Regions from separate parts of the Homo sapiens genome. Here all the other regions are linked to region 2. Evidence: promoter capture Hi-C in 16 types of primary human blood cells and fetal thymus (Javierre and others, 2016). All regions are on one chromosome and are shown on one strand. The core of a region is centred on a gene start or on the middle of the fragment in contact, and the rest is flanking DNA. Distances in the headings are between cores, read along the strand shown. Region 1 overlaps TRPM4 (transient receptor potential cation channel subfamily M member 4). Region 2 holds the start of LIN7B (lin-7 cell polarity scaffold B). Region 3 overlaps TRPM4 (transient receptor potential cation channel subfamily M member 4).

Region 1 (2,802 bases), core at 91-2,590, 97 kb after region 2:
CACGCCTGGCTAATTTTTGTATTTTTAGTAGAGATGGGGCTTCACCATGTTAGCCAGGCTGGTCTCGAACTCCTGACCTGAGGTGATCCGCCCACTCCGGCCTCCCAAAGTGCTGGGACTACAGGCGTGACCAAACGCCCTTGGCTCTAACCTGACTTCTAATCGCATCCTGTAACCTCTGACTTTAGTGATCTTGACTTCTGTCTGCTGCTATAGACTGAACAATTATTGCCTGGCATCTAACCTTCGTCCTTGCCCCTGGCTGGGCCCTGACCTCAAGTGACCTTTGACCTCTGGCCTTTGCAGTTACACATTCGGCAAAGTACAGGGCAACAGCGATCTCTACTGGAAGGCGCAGCGTTACCGCCTCATCCGGGAATTCCACTCTCGGCCCGCGCTGGCCCCGCCCTTTATCGTCATCTCCCACTTGCGCCTCCTGCTCAGGCAATTGTGCAGGCGACCCCGGAGCCCCCAGCCGTCCTCCCCGGCCCTCGAGCATTTCCGTAAGAACAGAGCTTGGCTTAAAAAGGAGAAATATAGGGGACCGGGAGCCTGGAAGGCGAGGGGAAGGGGGCATGCCCCAAATGACTAACGGGCGTGGCTTAGGTAGCGAGGGGCGGGGTTTAAGCAACAAGGGGCGGAGCTTAAGCACTGAGGGGCAGTGCTTACGGGTGAGGGGCGGGGCATGTTCTCGAATCACCAGGGGCTGGGTCTGGGATAGCGTGCGTGTTCTGAGGGTGTCGGAAGGGGCAGCTGGGATTGGGAAGGGGCGTGGCCTGAGCCCTTTGACTCCGCCCGCCCCTGCAGGGGTTTACCTTTCTAAGGAAGCCGAGCGGAAGCTGCTAACGTGGGAATCGGTGCATAAGGAGAACTTTCTGCTGGCACGCGCTAGGGACAAGCGGGAGAGCGACTCCGAGCGTCTGAAGCGCACGTCCCAGAAGTGAGAGCGGGGCCTGGTCGGGGATGGGGCTTCTGGCCTGGGGCGGATCCTGACTTCAGCTGAAGGCAGGGTCCTGGGAGGGAGGGAGAGAGGGAGGAGGCCCGGGAAGCAGGCAGAGCCCTGGGGGTGGGTGGGCTGCGGGTGCCCCCGGTAAGAGGCCCTCCCTTCTCAGGGTGGACTTGGCACTGAAACAGCTGGGACACATCCGCGAGTACGAACAGCGCCTGAAAGTGCTGGAGCGGGAGGTGAGGCCTTGGGGCCTGGCTGGGGGACTGTGGCAGGGGTCCCATCTCCCGCTCTGACATTCCTCCCATTCCGCAGGTCCAGCAGTGTAGCCGCGTCCTGGGGTGGGTGGCCGAGGCCCTGAGCCGCTCTGCCTTGCTGCCCCCAGGTGGGCCGCCACCCCCTGACCTGCCTGGGTCCAAAGGTCAGTGTGTAGCATCAGCCTGTGCATCTCCAGCCTCTGTTCCTGTATTTTTGCGTGTTTTTCTCTCTCGGCACCTTTCCAGTGTCCCTGGGTCACTCTCTTGGTCTCCTTTGAGCCTTTTGTACTCTCGCCTTCGTCTTTCTTCTTTTTTGCCAGTCTCCCAGTTTTTCTGTCTCTCCCCTTCCCTGCCAATCACCTGCTCTCTCTTTTCTCTCTTCCCCCAGACTGAGCCCTGCTGGCGGACTTCAAGGAGAAGCCCCCACAGGGGATTTTGCTCCTAGAGTAAGGCTCATCTGGGCCTCGGCCCCCGCACCTGGTGGCCTTGTCCTTGAGGTGAGCCCCATGTCCATCTGGGCCACTGTCAGGACCACCTTTGGGAGTGTCATCCTTACAAACCACAGCATGCCCGGCTCCTCCCAGAACCAGTCCCAGCCTGGGAGGATCAAGGCCTGGATCCCGGGCCGTTATCCATCTGGAGGCTGCAGGGTCCTTGGGGTAACAGGGACCACAGACCCCTCACCACTCACAGATTCCTCACACTGGGGAAATAAAGCCATTTCAGAGGAATCGTGTCCGGAGGCTTGATTCCTGGGGGAGCTGGTGGGTGTCTAGATCCAGGATGGGAGCTGGAGCTGGGGTGTTGGGTTTGGGGTTCTTGGTGGATTTGCTGCTGTAATTCAGATATTTTGGAGTCCGTTTCCTCCCTTGAGCCCCATTGTTCTTGCCGGAGACCCAGCACTTCTGTCTGCACTGTTCTGACGGCTCTCGCTTCAGTAGGACAAGACCCCATCTGTACCCCCTCCCACCCAGTTTCAACTTTCCAGTGGAAAAATAACTCAGTGATAATAAGCAAATTATTTCCTGGAATGGAGGTGGGTGGGTGTTGTGTACATCTGCTTTGGCAATAGGGAAACGGATGATGCAAATTTGAGTAGATAAATGCATACGTGTCTTTAAAAAGTCTAATTAGTGGGAAATTGCAGGCCAGGCGCACACAGGGTTGAGGCAAATATGTGTGATTATACATGCAGCTTAACTAAATAACCCATAACAAGCTAAACTGGTAATGACAAGGTTGAACTGACAGCAATCATTAGTTAAATAGCAAGAAAGCCACCAACAACCAACACATCCAAAAATCAAAACCAAACATCCTTCCTCCAAATTGGAGGAGATCCAAGTATCTGTCACCGTGGGTGCAGAGTAGCGTTGAAACATTGCCAAGTGTTGTGTGGCAACTGCAACTTCTCTGGAAGATGCTGAGTTAGTTCTCACCAACCCAAGTAGTAATAATCACTGTAATGTAACCTACTTCCTTCCTTCCTTCCTTCCTTCCTTCCTTCCTTCCTTCCTCCCTCCCTCCTTTCCTCCCTTCCTCCCTCCTTCCCTCCCTCCTTCTTCCTTCCTTTCTTTTCTTCTTTTTTTTTTTTTTTTT
Region 2 (2,700 bases), core at 111-2,610:
AAACCCCATCTCTATGAAAAATACAAAAATTTGGCAGGTGTGGAGGTGCACACCTGTACTCTCAGCTACTCAGGAGGCTGAGGCAGGAGAATTGCTTGCACCCGGGAGGCAGAGGTTGCAATGAGCCGAGATCACGCCACTGCACTCGAGACTGGGCAACAGAGGGAAGACTGTGTCTCAAAAACAAAATATCCAGTATCCCTCTTTCAGTGTAGACCATCTTAAAAATGGCACCAAAGCACCTTAATACTGTCTTCTCCTGCACCTCCCAATCCCCTTATATAGCCAAGCACCAAGGCTTGTCTAGACATTTCCCACATCTGCCCACCCATCTTCTGTGCTTTGGCCCTGGTGCTAGCTGCCACCTGGATGGCTGTGGTAGCCTCGTAAGTTGCCCCGCTGCTTCTCCTCTTGTTCTTGTCCAAACCAGTCTCCACAGTGGCTACAGTGATTTTTTTTTTTTCAATAGATACGAGGTCTCACTATATTGCCTATGCTGGTCTTGAACTCCTGGGCTCAAGTAGTCTTGCTGCAGCCTCCCAAAGCGCTAGGATTACAGGTGTGAGCCACCGTGCCCGGCCCCAGTGATCTTAAAATACAAATTTGAGGCCCAACCTGGGCGACAGAGCGAGGCTCCGTCTCAAAAATAATAATAATAATAATATAATAATAATACAAATTTGAGTGTCATATTTTTCTCTTAGGAGTTTGCATGAAGCCCCAAATCCTCAAGGCGCATATGCCAACGCAGGAGCCCAGGCATAAACTATCCTGCCGACCTTTTCACCTCATCATCAACCAATCCTAACTCTGCTTCCAGCCACGTGGGCTCTTTCTGGGTGGTGGGGGTGACCCAAGCTCCACCTCTTGTTCATCTTACCTCCCAGGACTGTATGTCAATGTCCCTCCTCTAGGATTTCCTTCGTTTTCTAGATCATCACCTCCCCACTCTCAGCTCTCATCACAGCCGTAGTTGGTCGTCTACCTCCCCTATAGACTGGAAGCTTCGTTCGGGCCGTGGGCTTGGCTGTCCTGCTCACCACGGTGTCCATGACTTGGGCTCAGATGTTTCACAAGAGTTTGTTGAATGAATGTGGGGAAAGGATGGACAGGGGATAGACGGGTGTGGAGGGCAGGCAGACACGGATCCTGAAAGGTACACACAGACCGAACCTGCAGTGGGAGGGGTCGCCAACAGGACCGACTGGCCGGGGCGGAGGGCAGGGCGCGGCTGGCGCGCGGCAGGTGGTCGGAGCAGTCGGGCGAGGGAGAGCTGGGCGCTCTCCAGGCTGCGCCTCCGCAGGGGGCGCCCGTGGCCCGGGGCGTGGCCTCGCGCAGCCCCGCCCTCCTCGCCGGCGCCAGGGCAGGCGGGCGGCTGGCAGCTGTGGCGCCGACATGGCTGCGCTGGTGGAGCCGCTGGGGCTGGAGCGGGGTAAGCGTGCGCCAGGGGGCCCTGCCCACCCGGGCCGCGGCCTACATACCCAGCCCCCGGTCCCCGCCCTTCCCGGGTCAGGCCAGTGCGGGTGGGCCAGCGGACCCGGAGGGGGTGGGCGGGGCGGGCGCCGGGGCCGGGCGGTCGCTAGGTGTGGGAGGCTCCCTGGGCGCGGGCCGGGACGCTGGGCGCCCGCCTTACAACCCGGCCTGTGGAGGGGTCCCGGGGCCGCAGGGCCGCTGGTGGCAGTCTCTCCTGCGCCACCCTGGACTCTGCGGGGTGTCCGACTAGGCTTCGGCCGTCCTCCCCGGACTGTGCGCTCGGCCTCACTCCGCCGCTCTCCTTGCTTCTCTGCGTCTCGGGGTCTCTGACACTCGGGGTTTCTGCGCCCCGCCCCCGCCCCGCAGACGTGTCCCGGGCGGTTGAGCTCCTCGAGCGGCTCCAGCGCAGCGGGGAGCTGCCGCCGCAGAAGCTGCAGGCCCTCCAGCGAGTTCTGCAGAGCCGCTTCTGCTCCGCTATCCGAGAGGTGAGGGGCGCGCGGCGCAGGGGCGCGAGCTGGTGGCCGTCGTCCTCCTCCTCCTCCTCCTGCTTGTCCCGAGCCCGGAGACTACGCCTCCCGGCAGCTCCCGAGGCGGCCCGCCTTGGGGTGCCAACGCTTCAGCTCAGGGGTTCTTCGGGAGTTGTAGTTTTCTCGGCCTTCTGTTGCGGGGGCGGGGCGGATCCTTGCGTGGTAGCGGGAGAGGGTCTAGAGGCCTGAACTCCTGCGTCTAGGGCTGGAGGAGCTGGCGACTCCCTGATGCCGCTGCCTCCTCACCCAGGTGTATGAGCAGCTTTATGACACGCTGGACATCACCGGCAGCGCCGAGATCCGAGCCCATGCCACAGCCAAGGTGGGCCCCGCACCCCATTGCTCCTGGTGTCTATTTAACTGCCTAGTCGAACTCAATATCTCCTTCATGCCAGTCATTTCTGTTTCCTCCCTCATGATTTTTGCTAAATCTATGTGCCACCTTACTATTAGTAAATAATCGCACATTTTTAACTTAAATGTCATACTAAGGCATCTTTAGCAACTGCAAATGGAAACAGTATGGCATGGTTGGTAGAAGATAACCTTCAACATCTGTACAGTGCAAACCAGGAAACTCATGGCGCTCTGACCTCTCACTGCACAATAGTTAGATGCTGCTACCTCTTGCTGCTGTCCGGAGGCTCAGATCTCCCTCCAGGCCTGGCTTTCCTCTGTTTAAAAGTAAGATTGAGGCCAG
Region 3 (2,700 bases), core at 18-2,517, 78 kb after region 2:
TCTTTCTTTCTTTTTTGAAATGGGGTCTCGCTCTGTCGACCAGGCTGGAGTGCAGTGGTGTGATCTCCGCCTCCTGGGTTCAAGCGATTCTCCTGCCTCAGCCTCCCGAATAGCTGGGACTACAGGAGCCCACCACCACACCTGGCTAACTTTTGTACTTTTAGTAGTGACAGGGTTTCATCACATTGGCCAGGCTGGTCTTGAACTCCTGACCTTGTGATCCGCCCGCCTCAGCCTCCCAAAGTACTGGGATTACAGGCATGAGCCACCATGCCTGGCCCAGGGATTACATTTCAATGTGAGATTTGGAAGGGACAAACATCCAAACTATATCACACGTCCCATCAGGGACTGAGATACTGAGGAAGCTTCCCAGGTGCCAAGCTCAAGACTTGGCTCAAGATTTGGTTCTGCCATCAAGGAGGCCATCACCAGAAATTGATTTTCTTCATGCTACACATACTTCCATCCCTCTGTAGCAAGCGGAATCAGTTGATTGAGGGATTTTTCACCTATTTTGTTCGTGGTCCCAAGGCCCCTGCTTTTAATCACTATGCTATGGTTGCCGTTAAGGTATTTTAAAAGTCAGGCCTAAGCAAATGAAATAGAATATTTATCAAACTTCTTTTTTTGTTGTTGTTTTTGAGGCGGAGTCTTGCTCTGTCGCCAGGCAGGAGTGCGGTGCCGCGATCTCATCTCACTGCAACCTCCGCCTCCTGAGTTCAAGCGATTCTCCTGCCTCAGCCTCTCAAGTAGCTGGGATTACAGTCACCTGCCACCACGCCCAGCTAATTTTTTTGTATTTTTAGTAGAGACGGGGTTTCACCATGTTGGCCAGGATGCTCCCCATCTCCTGACTTTGTGATCTGTCCTCCTCAGCCTCCCAAAATGCTGGGATTACAGGCATGAGCCACCATGCCTGGCCTATATATAGTTTTTTAAGACAATGTAGAGAGGATACAAAATATTTATCTGTAGCCATAAAAAAGAACGAGATCATTTCCTTTGCAGTGACATGGTTGGAGCTGGAGGCCATTATCCATAACAAACTAACAGGAACAGAAAACCAAATACCCCATGTTCTCACTTATAAGTAAGAACTAAATGATGAGAACACATGGACACACAGAGTGAAACAACACACATTGGGGCCTATTGGAGGACAGAGGGTAGGGCGAGGGAGAGGACCAGGAAAAATAACTAGTGGGTACTAGGCTAAATACCTGGGTGATGGAATAATCTGTACAACAAACCCCCATGACACAAATTTACCTACCTAACAAACCTGCACATGTACCTCTGAACTAAAAATAAACGTCAAAAAATAAAAAAAAGAACAAAATATGTATCAAGAGAGAAGGGAAAAACTAAGATAAACATTTGGACCACTGAGAAAGGTTGATAGAAGGCCCCAGTGTCTGAGGTCAGGATCAGTAATGGTGTCCTTCCCTAGCAATTTCTCATCTGCACATGTGATGATGATGACGACCTTGATAACAGCTGATGTTATGAAACACGTACAATGAGCAACTACTGTGCTCAATTCTTTTGAAAATCAGTTGGTTTTTTTTTTTTTTTTTTGAGATGGAGTCTTACTCTGTCGCCCAGGCTGGAGTGCAGTGGCATGATCTCGGCTCACTGCAAGCTCCTCCTCCCGGGTTCACACCATTCTCCTGCCTCAGCCTCCTGAGTAGCTGGGACTACAGGTGCCCGCCACCACGCCCGGCTAATTTTTTTGTATTTTTAGTAGAGCTGGGGTTTCCCCGTGTTAGCCAGGATGGTCTCGATCTCCTGACCTCGTGATCTGCCCGCCTCGGCCTCCCAAAGTGCTGGGATTACAAGCATGAGCCACCGCACCCGTCCGGAAATCAGTTCGTTTAATTCCAACAACCCAGTGCAATAGGGCCTATAATTATTCTCATTTTGCAGGTGAAATAATGGAGTCATTCAGTCACTTGCCTCAGATCATGTGGTTGGTAAATGGTAGAGCCGAGATTTGATCCCAGATCCTCTTGTACCTGAGTCTGTGCTCTCAGCCCCTGTGGAGCCCCCCCACTGAGAGCTCTGTTGAAGGACAGATCCCAAGATCCCCCCAGAGAGGCTGGGGCTGAGCCCAGGAACCTGCCTGTGGCCTGGCTGGAGGTGATTCAAGATGGCAGATGTGGGGGAAGCTTTCTGACCCACCGCTCTCCCTTCTTACCAGGATTCTGCAGGAGAACTGTGAAATACCATGATGGTTTTCTCTATCAGTAGGGAGCTTGCTGTCCTCTCTGCATCTGACCTTCTTTCTCTAGGAGTTCTTAGTTTCTGTAGCTTTCACTATTCTCCTCCTTCTCCTCCTCCTTCTCCTCCTTGTCCTCCTCCTTGTCATCCTCCTTCTCCTCCTCCTCGTCATCCTCCTTCTCCTCCTCCTCTTCATCCTCCTCCTCCTTCTCCTCCTCTTCCTACTCATCCTCCTCCTCTTCCTCCTTCTCCTCATCCTCTTTCTCTTCCTCCTCCTCATCCTCCTCCTGCTCCTGCTCCTCCGCCTTCTCCTCATCCTACTTCTCCTCTTCATCCTCCTCCTGCTCCTGCTCCTCCGCCTTCTCCTCATCCTACTTCTCCTCTTCATCCTCCTTCTCCTCTTCCTCCTCTTCATCCTCCTCCTCCTGCTCCTGCTTCTCCGCCTTCTCCTCATCCTCCTTCTCCTGCTCCTCCTCC

The links. The method cuts DNA at HindIII sites, captures the fragments that hold promoters and counts their contacts. A CHiCAGO score of 5 or more calls a contact.
Region 1: a fragment that was not itself captured here is called in contact with the fragment with the promoter of LIN7B in region 2 in 1 of 17 cell types (megakaryocytes); the score reaches 5.2 in megakaryocytes.
Region 3: a contact is called between a fragment that was not itself captured here and the fragment with the promoter of LIN7B in region 2, in 1 of 17 cell types (endothelial precursors). The highest score is 6.4, in endothelial precursors.

Annotation. Positions count from the first base shown.
Region 1 is chr19:49,209,903-49,212,704 of GRCh38, forward strand. TRPM4 (transient receptor potential cation channel subfamily M member 4) reads left to right here. Exons shown (of 25, transcript NM_017636.4): 21 at 307-503; 22 at 808-940; 23 at 1,113-1,185; 24 at 1,262-1,367; 25 at 1,592-1,934. The coding sequence ends at 1,596. Among named protein-coding and RNA genes, the nearest start is that of TRPM4, 54 kb to the left of the region's middle. RefSeq lists an enhancer at 729-1,367. The HindIII fragment of the contact is 8,012 bases long and covers 1-2,802 here.
Region 2 is chr19:49,113,010-49,115,709 of GRCh38, forward strand. It overlaps LIN7B (lin-7 cell polarity scaffold B), which reads left to right and starts at 1,361. Exons shown (of 6, transcript NM_022165.3): 1 at 1,361-1,432; 2 at 1,840-1,958; 3 at 2,251-2,322. The coding sequence starts at 1,396. RefSeq lists a silencer at 1,181-1,760. The HindIII fragment of the contact is 9,910 bases long and covers 1,003-2,700 here.
Region 3 is chr19:49,191,518-49,194,217 of GRCh38, forward strand. All of the region lies in intron 16 of TRPM4 (transient receptor potential cation channel subfamily M member 4), which reads left to right. Among named protein-coding and RNA genes, the nearest start is that of TRPM4, 35 kb to the left of the region's middle. The HindIII fragment of the contact is 1,803 bases long and covers 367-2,169 here.